Regions from separate parts of the Homo sapiens genome. Here region 2 is linked to region 1. Evidence: promoter capture Hi-C in human tissues and cell types (Jung and others, 2019). All regions are on one chromosome and are shown on one strand. Each heading gives the region's core, a stretch centred on a gene start or on the middle of the fragment in contact. The rest is flanking DNA. Distances are from core to core; before and after follow the strand shown. Region 1 holds the start of TSPAN19 (tetraspanin 19). Region 2 overlaps LOC102724680 (a long non-coding RNA gene).

What was found. Contacts are between HindIII fragments. The study calls those that stand out against the background at their distance.
Region 2: a fragment that was not itself captured here is called in contact with the fragment with the promoter of TSPAN19 in region 1 in 2 of the 25 tissues and cell types used here (dorsolateral prefrontal cortex and hippocampus).

The regions. Positions count from the first base shown.
Region 1 is chr12:85,033,983-85,039,847 of GRCh38, reverse strand. TSPAN19 (tetraspanin 19) reads left to right here and starts at 3,571. Exons shown (of 9, transcript NM_001100917.2): 1 at 3,571-3,644. It overlaps LRRIQ1 (leucine rich repeats and IQ motif containing 1), which reads right to left and starts at 3,497. Exons shown (of 27, transcript NM_001079910.2): 1 at 3,441-3,497; 2 at 1,540-1,695. The coding sequence starts at 1,671. The HindIII fragment of the contact is 3,053 bases long and covers 2,723-5,775 here.
Region 2 is chr12:84,927,504-84,933,368 of GRCh38, reverse strand. The region is part of intron 2 of LOC102724680 (a long non-coding RNA gene); the gene reads right to left. Among named protein-coding and RNA genes, the nearest start is that of SLC6A15, 18 kb to the right of the region's middle. The HindIII fragment of the contact is 6,511 bases long and covers 1-5,865 here.

The DNA.
Region 1 (5,865 bases), core at 2,322-4,821:
CATCTAGGAACAACTTTAATAATAATCTTGAAGTTACATATATCTACATGATGACAACACTTCACTGAGGGACCTCAAGCATGGCATCAATGAAACGATATAAATGCTTCTATATAGAAGAACATGATATGCACCTGCTTTTATTTAACTAAAAACAAATATTGTCTGCCATACTGGGTTTTCATGTGTTGAATTTAGGATTTACAGCCAGCTTTATTTTCTCTATCCTAACTAATGGAATTCAGTGTTTAGTTTTGAGAATGAACATTAGAAGATAATGAGAAAATATTACCTTTCTTTTAGTACTACAGAAAAGCATGTAAAATTATATGTCATAAAATGAGTCCTGATAAAGTAGTGTATTAAAAATAGTGACAAAAATATCAATTCTACTTTTCTGACATCTGTCCTGCATTGAGATTTCTATTTCTTGTTTAACTAAGAAATAGAATTCTAAGCTACCTGGATTGTAGAGATTGTTGTTATGTCTTGGGAAATATAGTTCATAATCTGTAAATCCTTAGTTAATAATTTTTTCCCCTGGTAATAATACTTACACTGATTCTAAGTGATATAAATAATAGTGAGGTATCTTAATTGAAACAGAAGGGCTTTAAAATTTTCTTCTTCCTTTATATAAAAAGGTATAATAAAATATAAAACAATCCATTATTCTGTTGGATTTCATACTCAAATAAAGAATTTCAGATTTTTTTGCCTCATTTAAATGAGCTCTGGATAAAAGACATAATAATGTAACAATGTTAATTTTTCTAAATGTAATAGGTAGGTTTAGTGCAATCCTAATAAAATAACAAAGTTCTCAAATCTTTAAAAAATTTTCTTTTTCAAAAAAAGCTTAGTTAAGATTTTCAAATGATAAAAAGATGTGAAGAATTTGGTCCACTCAATATTTACAAATATACAACAGTAGGAAAATAATGAATAAAGTAATGGAAAAGAACAGACAGCCTTGGATAGATCATATGTACAATAACTATCAGTAAGACATATGATAAATCAATTGAGAAAAATTAGATTATTAAACAAGAGACACTGGAAATATTAGCTCAATATGTGCAGGAGATTTTCAAATTAGTTCTACATTTCATAACATTCCTGAAAATAAATTCCAGTTGGATTAAGGATATTGGTATAAATGAATAAATCTATGAATAAACTCTGAAGCATATAAACATTGGTAAATATACACAAATAAAAGGATAATTTGTTTTATTTCCAAAAGTAACCATTTTGATATGTCAAAAGATTTCATATACATTTTTCTTCCCATGTAATTTAATCATGCTAAAATGTTCACAAGTAAAAACAAAAATCAGGATATAAATATATATAATGATAATCCCAATTTTACGAAGATGTATAGGTGACTATATATATTCAATATAATTTATATTTATATAAATTGTTTATAACAATGCTGCTAAAAATGAGAAGTACATAAAAACATCCTGAGAAAAGTAATATTTCTCCTGAAAAGCCTACTCCTGTTAAAAGGCTCAAAAGTGCAATACTCACTGTATCACTATCATCACTCTGGGTTTCTGATTTTGCATCACTCTCAATGTCTTCTTTTTCCAAGGAGGAAATGCTGAGTTTATCCAATTCAGCTTCTATTTCTGCTTTGAGCTTTGCATCATCATCGTCCATTATTCTTCATAATAAAGCACAGAACTGCTTTAAAAAATGAAGAGGCTAATATGTCACTAAAAATTATGTGTTCTCTAATTTGTCATACCAATCCAACATATTTATTTAAATATGTTTTAATTTAACAAACTTTTATCACACCTTATTATGGTTACACCAAACATTGTTTTATCTCTTCAATCATTCTTTTTAAACTTTGACTACAAAATGATCAACTGTAATTGTACGCTAATACTCTTATTGATTTATATGTTTATATAATTTTACTATATATAATAAAGATCAGAATTGTTTATAAAATTTTTGTTTCAGTTATTAATACATATAAATGTAGGTATGTATGCATGAGTTGCAATGTAATATGTGTTGTTGTTAATGTTCTGTTTTTTATTTTTCACTGTTGGTCTTAGTCCCAAAAAAGGTTTGAAAACGTACTAGTCAGCTATCATTTTATTTTTCATGACACTAGTTTAAACCTTTCTTTCTTTACTCAAGGGCCTGACCTTTCCACCTGTCTTCTTGTTCTTTTCTTCATTCCTTCTTTCCATCCTCTTTCCCTTTCGTTAATTCCTCCTTTCACTCTACTCAATCATCTCAAAATCAGTTCTACCCATAACTTCCACCCTCACTCACTCACTCAAAAATAAAAAATAAAATAAAAAAAGGAAAAGAAAGAAAAGAAAAGAAAAACAAAGTGAAATGGAACTCCAGACAGAACCAGGGCAAAATATTATCCTGCAATGGAACTCAAAGTGCATTTAAAAAGCTTTATTAGAAGGAAAGCTAGATTTTTTTTTTATGCCTACAAAGCAAAATGCACGGGTATACTAAACTTTATATAGAAAGAGAGGCAGGAGAGTATGGTGGAGGTAAGAGTCATTTCCTTTACATGACTTTCTCTGTTCATCTACTGGCTCATTAGATCACCCCTGTCCAATTACATATTTGAGCACTTACGCAAGTTTAAATTTTCTATTAGCAACTTTTTAAAAACAAAAGAGAAGTGCAATTAATTTTTATAATATATTTTATTTAACCCAATATATCCAAAATATTTCAACGTGTAATAACAAAATTAATTATTAATATCATTGCAAAGAGTTTATATTCTTTCTTTGGACAGTAATTCTTAGAAATCTGTTGTGTGTTTTACACCTGCAGCACATCTCAGTTAGGATTAGCTGCATTTCAAGTCCTCAGTAGCCACCTGCAGTTAGTGGTTACTGTATATGACGTGCAGTCATGGATGGGTCTCACTGTAAATGGGCTACATTAAAGTGCTCTAAGTTGATAACGAATCACTTGGAGTTCACTAAAGCTGTCAAAAGTAGAAAAGCTTAAGGAACTCCCCCTTCAACCCCTGTAAAGAAAGGGGAGAGAAATCTACTTTATAAGGTTCATATAAATTATATATTACCAAAAAAAAAAGAAAGAAAGAGAGACAGAAAAAGAAAGGGTGGAAAGGAGGGCGACAAGAAGGGAAGGAAGGAAGGAAAATAACGTCAATTGGTTTGTGGGGAGCGGTGAGTGAGTAACCATCGAATGATCCCTACATAGCCAAGACATCTCTTTAAGTTTTGAATGAGTTCTCGAAATCTCCAGGGTGGAAGGGAGCCTCGAGCTTCGCAGAGTCGCACAGCCATCCCCTGACCCGCGGTCTCTCCCTTTGCTGGAAGTCTGGCCAGGCAGAGAGAGTCCCGGCTCGGCCTGAGCTCCCACAGCTGTTCACCTCCCTCAACGGGAATCCCAGTCTTAAGACCCCGGCTCACCCCTCAGCAGCGAGATTCCTTGGCTTTGTTGTAAGACAGCGCCCATAGCCGCTACACAAAGCGTATCCATGGCAACAGCCAATCACAAGGAAGAGACACCGGTTTTTCCCTACAGGTGCTCTAGAAGGACAAACAATCTCGATTCTAAATTGAAACGAACGCAGCATTTCAGGGACTGGATGAGGAGCTTACGGTTTTTTACAGGTAGATTTTAATATTTAAGTAACTTTGGAAAATACTTAATAAAATGAAATTTTGTTATAATTACCCAAGTAGATGTAATCTCACTTTTAAATTTTTTAAATTGTTTCTGAGCTACATATATTTATATTTCCATCTGGTGATTTGCCCATGTATAAGGTGTTCATTCCACAAACCCTTAATCCTGAACAGTGATTTGTGGGACATAGAAGTATGGAAGAGAAGTCAATAAGTTGTTTGCCTTCCATGACAACAGTTTTTTAAAAAAGAAAAGAAAAGAAAAAGGAAAAAAGAAAAAAATCATCAATCAATGCCCATCAAAAACCTCTAACTGAAGGGATGTGGGTGAGAAATTTGAAAAATTATTTTCTGGAGTTATTTTACTGTAAAAATATTGTCACACAGTATTTCAATATAAAACCTTAATTTCTAAGTTTATGTCATGCTATTTAATTTTAACTTAATTTATTAAAGTTTTTTGTGGAGCAAATACATAGGGTACAAAATAATATTTTAATTAATAACATATTTTTTACTTTAATTTTCTTTTAAAGTTTGCAAATAAGGCATTAAATTCTAAAAGGAAGTAGCCATAATTGTAAAAGGTATCTGCTATAAAATAAGCTAAAAGCAAATATTTCACTGAGCCTCTGGAAAAAAAATAGACTACATTTCCTGGTAACAATAAACTTGAATTGCATCAACATAAGAACTAATAATATAAAGTGAGACGTTAATAGATTTCTCATATTAAAAGCACACATGTTAGTTTCCTTTTCAGGAAAGATGATTTTAAAAAATAAACTACACTTGGTTTCAGGTCTAATTAAATTCAGAGTATTTTCATTATCAAAGTCCATGCTCAAATGGAATTTGTTCTTTTTTTTAAGTTTGGTTTTATTGCTGATTTATAGACTATTGAAATTATCTATTTTTTATTGTTTTTTTAGAGACAGGGTCTCCCTCTGTTGCCCAGGCTGGAGTGCAGTGGTACAATTATTGCTCACTGTAGCCTCCAACTCTTGTACTCAAGTAATCCTCCCGCCTTGGCCTCCCAAAGCACTGGGATTATAGGTATGAGCTACTGTGTTCGAACCTCAAACTGTTCATTTAAAATAGACTTTCATATTGTGTTGAAGTTCACATAAGAATCTTAAGATTAGTTTTATTTTTGATTGTGAAACTATCCAGACTTCTAAAAATTATAAATCCTTTAATAATTTCAAAATTAATTTTGAATAACTAGTTTTCATAATCAAATAATTTTGGAAATAATGCCTTAGTTCCTTTCCTTCTCAAAGCTTACTTTGTCAAATATTGACAGCAAAAAAGAAAAACAGTGAAAGATTTTCTGAAGATAAATTAATTCATGGTGATAGATCTCCTATATTGTCATGCGATTTTTTACTTTGGAAGAAAGGACAACTTTATCAATTAGTCATAATTTCGCTAGAATATAACTAATCAAAAATAAAAGGCAGCAGTTATCTAATACATTTGTAGATTATAAGTAAATTTAACTTGACACTGTTGTTTATCAACCATGTAGTATTTAGCAGAAGTCCATTTTAATTGCATTATTCCTAGAAACGGTAACTTCAGATTGAGTATGTTGGTTTGCCTATGACTCTTTAACCTGAGTAGACTTTTGTTTCTTTTGAACATGTTAACTTCATTTCATTTAAATTTTAAAAACAATTTGTAGGTGTGGTTGATTTATAGCATATTGGCTTAACAATGCATATTTCCTTTAGAGAGTACATAATAAATATTTATTGAGAGAATGAAAGAATGAGAGATAACTGTTTGTTCTTTGTTATCTGACAAGACTAATATTCCTTTGAAAATGTGTTGTAGTGAAATCATTTTAGTTTAAGAGCATTTTTCAACAACTGCTTTATTCTTCATATGGCAGTGATATAATTTAAATATCCCATAATATCATTGTTGTGTTCAAAATAGTTGCAGAGCAGGTATTTCTTTGTTTCATTTTCTTGAGGCACCGTAATTATTGAGTAAAAGTAATTTACTATGTAGCTCATAGTACCACATATTGTATTCTTAGGCCTCTCATTCTCTTGTTCCACTTAAAGTGTGTCTCAAGCCTTCAGATTCTCTAACTCTCTTTGTGCTCCCTCCCAGCTGCTGTCATGACCAACCACTTCACAGAAAAATGAGAATTTATGACTTTCCCACAGTTTCCATCCCATTCCCCATTCTCACA
Region 2 (5,865 bases), core at 1,622-4,121, 110 kb after region 1:
TTTGTTACATAGGTATACACGTACCATGGTGGTTTGCTGCACCCATCAACCCATCACCTACATTAGGTATTTCTCCTCATGCTATCCCTCCCCAAACCCCCCACCCCCTAACAGCCCCCAGTGTCTGACGTTACCCTCCCTGTGTCCATGTGTTCTCATTGTTCAACTCCCACTTATGAGTGAGAACATGCAGTGTTTGCTTTTCTGCTCCTGTGTTAGTTTGCTGAGAATGATGGCTTCCAGCTTCATCCATGTCCCTGCAAAGGACATGAACTCATCCTTTTTATGGCTGCATAGTATTCCATAGTGGTTTTTTTTGACTTTTTTTTTTTTTATTATACTTTAAGTTTTAGGGTACATGTGTCAAAGTTCTTTCATATTACCTTTGTTGTTCTCTTTCTGTGCTTACTTCCTCTCAGAATTTTTCTTTCCTTTTTTATAGTTTCCTTTCTTTCTTCCTTTCATGACTTATTTCTTAAGATATCAAAGCATGCATACTGCTCTGTACTTATGTTCTCTCGCCCTTAATATAAATCTTTGTTCCTCTAAATATCCAGGCCTGACACTTGATCTAGTATCATATCTAGTGACACTTGATCTAGTGCTCTCATGGACTGTCTAACTGGAGGTCTAATTTTGACCTCAAGTATGTTACTTGTTAGAAGGTAGCATAGTGTACGTGAAAAAGTATTTAGGGTGTTTTTCTTCTAATTCTTCTTTAACTAGCCATGTGACAATAAACAAATTATTTGACCTCCCTGGCCACAGAGTTCTTTTCTAACACAATGTAGAATTTCTTCTACATAATTGCTAAGTTTCCTGAAAACTTTCAGTTGGATCTCAATAATGTCTTTCTTCAAAAATGGTTCCCCATCTGATAATTTTATTTCTATCATTGATGTCCCATTATTTTACTATTCACCTTGAATATTTTGAATTTTTATAACTTTTCCTTTACCTTTTACCCCACTTTTCTGTTATGCCAGTAAAAAATAAATTGCATTTTAAAAAACAAATAGCTTTTTGTCAGTTGGAGAAGGAAAGAAAGTTCAATAGCTTATACAAAGGCAAGGAAAGCAAGGCACATAGTAAATATTTTCTCACATTTAATTTTTTTGAATTAGACATTATATTTGGTCTCTTTGGCTTTATATATTTATTTTTATTTGTTCTTATGTAGTGGAAACTTCACTTTTTTCCATTATGGATTCTTTAGGTCTCCCCAACAAGGTGTGAAATTCTAGCATTGAACAAGGAAAGTGAAACAAATTCATAATATATACACAAGGGAGCTTGTATATATTATGTTCATGAGGAAAATTAAATTAAAGGATAAAAATAAAAACAATTTTTCAGCATAATTTTCATCACATTCAAGACGCTTTTGTAAGCAATAATACCAGCCATTTAGTCCATTCCTAAAGAATTGAAAATTCTGGGAATCTAACAATGTCAATGTAGTTTTTTTCACATTATTAACTGAAGAAAAATGGGTGGCCTTTATAGATTTTTTTAAGATTAGAAACAAAAAGAAGTCAGAAGGAGCCAAATCCAAACAGAAAGATGGATGCCTAATGATTTTTCCATCAAAGCTCTTGCAAAATTGCCCTTCTTTGATGAGACGAATGAGCAGGAGCATTGTCATGGTGGAGAAGGACTCTCTGGTGAAGCTTTCTCAGGTGTTTTTCTGGTAACACTTTGATTAACTTTCTCAAAACCTTCATAAAAAGCGGATGTTATTTTTTCTCTGGCTCATCAGAAAGTCAACAAGCAAAATGCCTTGAACATCCCAAAAAGCTATTGTCATGACTTTTGCTCTTGACTGGCATGGTAGCCATTGCTTTGACTGTGCTTTGTCTTCAGGATCCTACTGGTAAAGCCATGTTTTATCTGCTGCTACAATGCTTTGAAGAAATGCTTCAGGATTTTGGTTTCATTTGTTTAAAATTTTCATGGAAAACTGTGCTCTTATTTGCAGCTGATGTGGGTATAATCGTTTTGGCACTCATCAAGTGGAAAACTTGTTGAACTTAAATTTTCGAGTCAGAGTTGTGTAAGCTAAACCAATGGAGATGTCTGCAGCGCTGGCTATTGTTTCTGCTGTTAATCCTCAATCTTCTTCAATTAGGGCATGAAAAAGCGAACAATTTATTTTCCTTCAAAATTATTGTTGATGGTCTGCCACCATAGAATTCATTTTCAACATCTTCTTGTCTTTTCATAAAATGAGTTTTCCATTTGTAAAGTGCTGATTTCTTTAGGACATTGTCTGCAATGTTTATTTTGGTGCAAAAAAATTGAAATTCATGCATAGATTTTTCATAATGCACATTTTCCATGAACTTTTTAAGAACCTCTTTAGATGTTAGCCACTTTTATAAATGCTTTACATAACTTTTAACACTTACAGCTATCTTGTAAGGTAGGTGCTATTATCTCCATTTTACAGAGAAGAAAGCTGAAACACAAAAATGTTAAGTGAGCTTCCAAAGCTATACAGATAGCACATGGCAGAGTTGAGCTTCGATCCCAATAAAAGAGGCTTCTGAGTCTGTGGTCTTCAGCAGTGTTGTCTGCCTGTCAAGACTGTGTAGATTCAAGGTTAGCAAGACTAACATACTGAAGAGAGCAGCCAAATGTTCAAATAAAATGTCTAGCTGTGTTTGGGATGTTCAAAGTTAGAAATGATAGCTCACAGAGATTACAGCTCAGCGATGAGAGCTGTTTCATAAGTAAAATGTTTGTTGAGACAATGGTAGAAACAGAAAGAATAATTTGAAATGGATCAATATGAGAAATGTTTTATGAAATAGCTGATAGAATTCGCTAATATACTATATAATCATGTGTTGCTTAACAATGGGGATACATTACGAAAAACTTATCATTAGGTGATTTTGTCATTCTGTGAACCTCAAAGAGTGTACTTACACCAACCTAGATGTACCATACTACACATATAATCTCTGTGGTATAGCCTATTGCTCCTAGGCTACAAAACTGTACAGCATGTTACTGTACTGAATATTCCAGGTAATTGTACATAATGGTAAGTTTGTATACCTGAACATATCTAAACATAGGAAAGGTGCTGTAAAAATAGAGTATAAATGATTTTTTAAAGAAAATATATGCTTTTATAGGACAGTTACCATGAATGGAGTTTGCAGTATGGGAAGTTGCTCTGGGATGCATTAGTGAGTGAGTGGTAAATGAATATGAAGGCCTATGACCTTACAGCACACTTTTATACAATTGGCAGCACAGATTTGTTTAAGCCAGCATCACTGAAAACATGAATAATGCATCACATTATGACCCTATGATGGCTATAATGTCATCAGGTGGTAGAAATTTTCTGATTCATTATAATCTTATGGGAAGACCATCATATATTTAATCCATCCTTGACTGAAATGTTGTTATGTGGTATGTAATTGTATATAGAAAAAGATGAAAAGATGGTAGCTCCATGAACTTTAATGTTTTTCTTGATACTTGATTGAGACCTCTAAGGACCTTTCCTTAATCAGAATAAAGTCAACATCCAAGGGCTTATCTGGCATGTAGTATACACACAAAAAAACCAAAACTCTTTTCAGAGGTAATATTTTGGCCAAGTAGGTTTTCAAGCAGGAAATCCTTGCCATGAGCAATATTTGAGACATGTGGATCCACTTTTGAGGTTGGAAAAGAATTCAGTCCAAGCACTATGGGCATAAGAAACAGATCAAGCTCTAGAAAGATAGATTAGACCTTTCTAACATGATATACTGAGGTTGGATTCTAGCACGCACTTTGGAAAAGTGATTCAGAATCCTTTTAAAATGCACATTAATACATTTTAAAAGCTCTGAAATCTATTATATATATATATATATATATATATATATTTTAAATTATTTATTTATTTAGAAAGAGAATCTTGCTCTGTTGCCCAGGCTGAAGTACAGTTGCATGATCTCACTTCACTGTAGCCTTCACCTCCTGGGCTCACGTGATCCTCCTGCCTCAAGCCCCCAAATAGCTGAGACTACAGGCACACATCACCAGGACTGGCTAATTTTTATATTTAGTAGAGTTGGTGTTTTGCCACATTTCTCAGACTGGTCTCAAACTCCTGGGCTCATGAGATCTGCCTATCTTGGCCTCCCAAAGTGCTGGGACTACAGGGGTGAGCCACTGCACTTGGCTTGAAATCCAATTTTAAATCATTGAATATTGTTATTTTCAAAGGAAATATGATCTTCTTGGCTGTATTTCTTTCCTACAACAAACAAAACTATTCTAAGAAATTATCTGACAGATCCTTATAACTGTAACTGGACTATGGCATATCAACTTAGAATTAAAATAGCCCTGTGTTTATTGCAGAACAGTTTAAATAAGTTTTATTTTCTTATGTAAAACCTGGAACACAAACTCTCACAATTAGAAGCTCTTTTACGAGGTACTTGGTATCCTAGCAGAACTGCTGTGTTTCATAAGACGTGTGTCTTCAAAAACACTTTCTGCTTCCAGCTTTCTGGTTTTAACTTGACTATCTTTTAGGTTTCCTGTTCTGGTTAAGGCAATGTTAGCTTCCCAACTCTTCACATTCGGGCTAACAACAGACCCTTATTTTCTTTCAGAAAACTAAATCTAATTAACCACAAGATCTCTTAGATTTCACCTTTTCAGTGATTCTCAAGAGATGTTCTTTCCTTTCCTGAGATTATACCGTCTCAGACCCCTTGCATCTCCTCTTAAACTATTAGAGAGACCACTATAGTGCTTATGTATGCTTAGCAGTTTGGAAATGTTTTCTATTAAGAATGAATGAATAAATGGTTACTCCTTCTCCCCAAAACTGCTATGATTGCCCACTTTTTGTGGCAATAAGTCCCAAATCTTTAGCACTGTGATCAAGCAAATCTCCAGGACACGATTTAATTACCTTTGCAATCTCATCTCTCACTATATCCAAACACATATCTAATTTCTTCTCATGGGCGAAATGTACTCTGACAGGTGTGTACTTTTTTGGTATTATTCCCTTGATCTGAAATATCTTTCTCTAAATTTTCTCCTTGAAAAAAAAATCCTATTCTTCCTGTAAAGTCCCTCTCGACTCTATACATAGTCATTGAGAGCACAAACTTGGAAGATAGACCCATTTTTTAAAAGTTCCACCAGTTTCCTTTAAAGCTAAATATACAACAACTATGGTATGGCACAAGAGTTCTATCCAAGGAATTTACATAAAAGAAATGAACAAAAAAAAGTACACAAAAAGAAATATGCAAGAATATTTGTAGCAAAAGTATTCTAAACATTCCACATTGAAAATATCACAGATATCCATAATTAAGAGTATGAATAATCATTGTATATTTGTATTCATCTGAAAGAATTCTACTCAGCCATAAAAAGAAACGCAAACAACATGGATGAATCAAAAAGCATTATGCTCAGTGAAACTAGCATTAATAAAAGACACTACTCTATTATTTTATTTATACAAAGTTGTAGAGATGTAAAATGTATGTATGTTGGAAAAAGAAAATCTGAAAAGTAGTTGCCTCTGGGTAATGATGTAGGTGTTGACTGGGAAGAGGAAAGAACAAATTTTCTCCAGTGATGACAATGTTTTATATCTTGACAAGTAGTTGGGTTACAGAGTTGTGTCAAGATTCTAAATGATATACTTAAGACTTGTTAACTTTGTCTTATGTAAATTTCATCTCCAAGGGAAAAAAAAGAACTATAAACATATTGAATTCCAGTGAATATGTGCTGAAGTGTTTAGGGAGAAAATGCATTGATGTTTAAAATTTATTTGGAAATGCTTCAATAAAATATGATGGTTTGATGGTTAGGTAGAAT